Regions from separate parts of the Homo sapiens genome. Here region 1 is linked to region 2. Evidence: promoter capture Hi-C in human tissues and cell types (Jung and others, 2019). All regions are on one chromosome and are shown on one strand. Each heading gives the region's core, a stretch centred on a gene start or on the middle of the fragment in contact. The rest is flanking DNA. Distances are from core to core; before and after follow the strand shown. Region 1 overlaps FAM24B (family with sequence similarity 24 member B). Region 2 holds the start of FAM24A (family with sequence similarity 24 member A).

The links. The method cuts DNA at HindIII sites, captures the fragments that hold promoters and counts their contacts. A contact is called where the count stands out against the background at its distance.
Region 1: a fragment that was not itself captured here is called in contact with the fragment with the promoter of FAM24A in region 2 in 1 of the 25 tissues and cell types used here (heart left ventricle).

Annotation. Positions count from the first base shown.
Region 1 is chr10:122,873,417-122,876,116 of GRCh38, forward strand. All of the region lies in intron 1 of FAM24B (family with sequence similarity 24 member B), which reads right to left. The region is part of intron 1 of FAM24B-CUZD1 (FAM24B-CUZD1 readthrough); the gene reads right to left. Among named protein-coding and RNA genes, the nearest start is that of FAM24B, 4.8 kb to the right of the region's middle. RefSeq lists an enhancer at 2,374-2,700. The HindIII fragment of the contact is 4,775 bases long and covers 1-2,700 here.
Region 2 is chr10:122,909,033-122,911,952 of GRCh38, forward strand. It overlaps FAM24A (family with sequence similarity 24 member A), which reads left to right and starts at 1,578. Exons shown (of 3, transcript NM_001029888.3): 1 at 1,578-1,787; 2 at 2,601-2,727. The coding sequence starts at 2,603. RefSeq lists a silencer at 2,861-2,920. The HindIII fragment of the contact is 31,400 bases long and covers 1-2,920 here.

The sequences.
Region 1 (2,700 bases), core at 40-2,539, 36 kb before region 2:
GCTGTGACCTCCTGCTCAGAAAAAAGTTCCTTTCAATACATTAGTGCTAACTGATGCTTGGCCAGGGCCACCCAAGAGCTCGGATGGTGATGTACAAGGAGATTAATGTTTTCATGTCTACCAACACAACATCCATTCCGCAGCCCATGGATCAAGGAGTAATTTCAACTTTCAAGTCTTATTGTATAAGAAATACATTTCATAAGGCTTTAGTAGCCATAGATAGCAATTTCTCACAGTATCTCTTAGGTGTGCCTATATATTGCTCTTCTTTCTCTAGTTTCTTAAGGTGAAAGCTTACATAATAGATTTTAGATCATTCTTTTCCAACATGTACTCAGTACTCTCCGTTTCCCTGTAAGCACTGCTCTTGTTGAATTCTACAAATTCTGATGAATTGTATTTTCACTTTCATTTAGTTTGAAATATTTTTAAATTTCTCTTGAAACTTCGAGCCAAGTGTTATTTTAGAAATATGTCTGTTAATCTCCAAATATTTTAGGATTTTTCAAGTATTTTCCTGTTACAAATTTCTAATTAAATACCATTGTGATCTAGGAACATACTTTGTATAATTTCTATTCTTTTACATTTGTTAAGGGGTGTTTTATGGCCTAGAATGTGCTCTATCTTGGTAAATGTTCTAGGAGTGTTTCAGAAAAATGTGTATTCTGCTATTGTTGACGTGTCCTATTAATACCAATTAGATCCAGTGGACAGATGGTACAATTCAGTTCAACTATATTCTTACTGATTTTCTGCATGCTGAAACTGTCAATTACTGATCCAGGGTTGTTGAAGTCTCCAAGAGTAATAGTGAATTTGTCTATTTCTCTTTGCAGTTCTATCAATTTTTGCTTCACATATTTGATGCTCTGTTGTTAGGTACATATACATTAAGGATTTTATTTTGCCTTCATTTATTCCTTCTCTGATGCTCTTCCTTTATATAGATCCAAGTTCATGACCTTGGATCATTTTCCTTCCCTCTGGAGAACTTATTTTAATATTTTTTGCAACACAGGTTTATCACTGACAAATTTCCTTAGCTTTTGTTTAAGAAAATCTTTAAGTCTCCTTCACTTCTGAAAGGTAATTCTTGTGGATACATTCTAGGTTGGTGTGATTTCTCTTTCAACATTGTAAATATTTCACTCCAGTCCCTTCTTGCTTGGTTTCTAATCAGAAATATAATTCTTTTCTTGTTCCTCTATAGCATGTATTTTTTCCTCTGGCTCCTTTCAATGACTCTTTGACTTTGGTTTTCCCATCTTGAATATAATATGCCTAGGTACAGACTAAGCTTGTCCAACCTACAGCCTGCGGGCTGTATACGGCCCTGGACGGCTTTGAATGCAACCCAACACAAATTTGTAAACTTTCTTAAAACAGCATGAGGTTTTTTTTGCAATTTTTAAGCTCATCAGCCATTGTTAGCGTTACTGCATTTTATGTGTGGCCCAAGACAATTCTTCTTTTCCCAGGGTAGCCCAGGGGCACCCCTGGTACAGACCTTTTAGTATTTATCTTGCTTGGTGTTCTCCAAGCTTCCTGCTCTAAGAACGGGTTTGGTGTCATTAATTTTGGATAATTCCCAACCATTATTTCTCACATATTTCTTCTACTCTCTTCTCTTTCTTCTACTTCTGGTATTACCATTATACATGTTATTACAAGTTTTATAACTGTCCAGCAGTTCTTGGATAGTCTACTTTTTCATCTCTATTTTCTTTGCTTTTCAGTTTTTATTAACAGTTCTTCAAGCTCATTTATTCTTTGGCCTGTCCAGTCTCCTGATAAACCCATCAAAGGCATTCATTTGTCACATTGTTTTTTGACTTCTATCATTTCCTTTTATATCTTCCTTAGAGTTTCCATATCTCTGCTTACATTACCCATTCACTCTTGTATGCTATCTGCTTTTTCCATTAGAGCCCTTATATATCAATCATAGCTACCTTAAATTCCCTACTTGAGAATTACAAAATCTGCATCATATGTAAGAATGGTTCTGATATTTCCTTTGTTTCTTGTTCTTTCTTGCCTTTTACCGTGCTTTGTAAATCTTTGTTGAAAGCCAGACATAATATATCTGGAAGAATATATAGAAACTGAGGTAATCAGGCTACTTGATTCATGTCAATCTGACTAGAAGTTAGGCTGTGTTTAATGTTTGCTGTAGTTATCAGTGTCAGAGGCTTCAATCTACTATTCTTGCTTTGAGTTTCCACATTGTCATTGTCTTTGGGTATCCCCAGAGACTCCTTTTAAATAAAATGTAGTCTGATAATAATTGGTCACAGCTGGCACTAGGGAAAGGCAGTCTCCTAATTAAAAAAAAAAACCCTGAAACTGGTGATCAACGGCTTGCCGATAAGATCTCAGGAGTTGGACAAGTGGGTTCAAGCATGTGCACTAAGAGGCAAAATGGCAGAGTTTAACTGGTATATGACCTTCTAAGAACATTTGATGGGTAAGAGAAGAATGCTTCAAGTGAGCATGCATACAACTCCAGTAAACACACTATGCATACAGCCCCGCCCTAGTGCTGGCACGCCACTGAGCATGCAGACAGCCCACCCTGAGGGAAGAATTAGCAAGAAATAATGCAACCCTGGAAGCATGTCAACATGTAAGACCCAAAATCAAAGGTCCAACCACGCACTTGATCTCTCAAGGCGCTTGCTTGGCCCTCTTCCA
Region 2 (2,920 bases), core at 328-2,827:
TTCTCTTCTGTAACCACTGGTCTATGTTTAAAAGCACAGCCTCCCCAGCCAGGTTGCATGAGTTTCTTACTAAAATCCCAATCAACATCTTCCAAGGATGTTCTGTAACAGGCAGAAAAAAAATCTAAGATTATACTAGAGCTCGAAGCCCTGCATGTTGGTATCCTTGGCCAATTTTTTCCAAGTCCTCTCCTGCCATCTTCGCTTTTATGCATCTCCAGTCAAATGGCCTTTTTCTTGTTCCTTGACCACACCAAACTTATTCCATGCTCAGGACATCAATTCATTGTCTCTTCTCATTCGGGCGTGACTTTTCTGGTTATTGGTATTACGGGCGATAATACCCGTAATACCATTTTCATTGAATCATGGACATTTTGACTTTATGCTAGGAGACTCTAGGTCCTATTTAAATATTTTATTTTATTAGTTAGTCACTGACTAGGTTTAGCATGCAGATCCTGGCTTACTTTTGTGGGATTAGATTCCAATTCCAATTTAATTTTCAGAGGTTTCGTGGTGATATTTTGGTCTACTTCATTTATCTGGTGTCACTGGGGCTTCTAGGTCCCCGAAAGTGCTGCCTGAGGGACAGAAGGAGGGTCCCCAAGCTGGAGCCACCTGGAGTCCAGGGGGGTCTCTAGCACATGGGAACAGAGTGCTTCCTGGGCTAGGTCACTGAATGTGGTCAGATCCCTGCAGGGTCTGAGGAGGGGAGTCTCATGACTAGCAAGGAAGATGAGCACTTCCCCTGCAGGCTTATTGCCAATGGGGTTCACAATCCACCCAACTTGCCACTGCTGCTGGGAAAGCCTGGGGTTGTCAGCAGGACTCACATTAAATCCGGGAATGGAATAAGCTAGATTGAGCATTGGAAAACACCAGGCCTGTCTACCTCCCCTGTTCTACTGCTATGGAGCTTACCCAGGCCTGGGGTCCCTAGTAGTTTGCTTTCTCCTTTCCAATTTCAGAGTTCTCCTTTGTTTGATTTGTGTTATTTCCAGGAATAATAGTTATGCTTAGCAGGGAGAAACATGTCTACACAATCTTCCTTGAACCTGGTGTCTCTTCATTTAATTTTACTACACTGGCTGGATATAAGTACCTTAAAATCATACAAACCAGACTAGAACAGATATCCTGTTCAACTTTCATTTTTGTACTTTTTTTAACTATAAAGCATTAAAATCTTCCCATGTCAATGGAAGTGTGCTTGAATCCTAGTAAACGGCTCCATATTATTTCATTGTGCAACTAAAATCTAAAGTCTAACCAGTCTTCTATAATTGAAATTTAAATGTGAGGTTATTTTACCCTTCCCACATTTCTTTTTCTTTTATTTGCTAAATTGAAATCTCAAACTTGATTTTGATTAGCAGTCAAACTCCAAAAATTAATGGAAGGGAAATAAGACCTGAAAAGGTGAAAGACTTAGAATTAAGTGATTCAAAATAGTATTTATATTTCACAAAAGCAAAAATATACCTATGGAATAGAATTCAGAACTCCATGAAAGACAGCTGGTGTCCCGAGAGCTGATGTCACACAGCCTGTGGCATGAATGTCAGAATAGGCCCATTCTACCAGCTCTGGCTGAGCCTGAGCTTCCAAAAGTGAGCTGAGCTGTTCAACCTTGGATCTTAATTACTCCTAGCAGGGATAATTAGGTCCCTCTTTCTCAGATTACAGGTTTGAGAAGTTCCAAATATCCGATGCCCTAGAGGTTTTTTTCCCTTAATTTTATTGTTACAATTGGCCTTCATCTAGCTCTGGATGGTTGAACTGTAGTAAGTATGCTTAGCTATCAGATTGGTTATTCTTCTCTCCTGGCTCACTGTTCCTCAGTTTCACAGTGTTAGATTAAGCAAATTACTTATTCCAAACAAATTGGGTTTCCTGGGAGAATTTAGTATTTACTAGGAAAAATGGCAGAGGTAGGCCTATGGTCTACTAGGAAGACAGAATGAGGGACAGGGGCTCCTGAATAAGCTGGCTCCTGGTCTCTGCAGACCACGTCCCATTTCTGAGCCCTGGCAAAGGTTTGGCTGGAAGTGTCAGGAATCTCCTTAAACCCTGAGATAACCCAGTTGTTGGTGGGAAAATTGAAAACTGTTTTTCCCAAAATACTTATCACTTACAAAATAGATTTTCATATTCTCAGTATTGTTGGACAATACTTTTTAAACTAATTCTCTTAGTTTCATAAAATAATTTTAAACCTAATATACAGTGAGGGGTGACTTCTGACCCTCTGAGTGAACATATTTCAGGGCCCAGGTGGTGGGGAGTGAAGTCATCAGCTCCAAGGCAGGCCTGTGGTCATTTCCAGCTGCACATCATGCCTGTGAGAGGGAAAGATTCTTCCCACTGTCTGTCATTATGATTTCCTTCCCTCTGGAGTTTGCATTTAAGTCCATTTTTACCCATAAATAAGTCCTTTTGTCTGCCCCTGGACCAGCTTAGGATCCTAGGACTCTCTGGAAAGATTTGCTTGCAGTTTACATGTGTCTGGGGTTCACTCTTCCTCTACTAACGGAAGGTTGTTTAGTGGCTGTGTGGGGAGGAAGGCCACGTTCTGCTTCCCTGCACTTTCTCCTTAGGCATGGCAAAGATGTTTGATCTCAGGACGAAGATCATGATCGGCATCGGAAGCAGCTTACTGGTTGCCGCGATGGTGCTCCTAAGTGTTGTGTTCTGTCTTTACTTCAAAGTAGCTAAGGCACTAAAGTGAGTCATGTGGGGGAAAATGAATTACACCTCCTCAAATGGGATACCTGGACTCCCTATTTGAGCAAGGTCATTCCTTTCTGCTGTGGCCATACCCCTGAGTGAGTGAGGACAAGAACAAGAAGCAGTTTTGAAAAGGCAGAAATGGCAGCTGAGTGTAAAATCTTTTACCCTTCTGCCGGGGGTTTGTAGA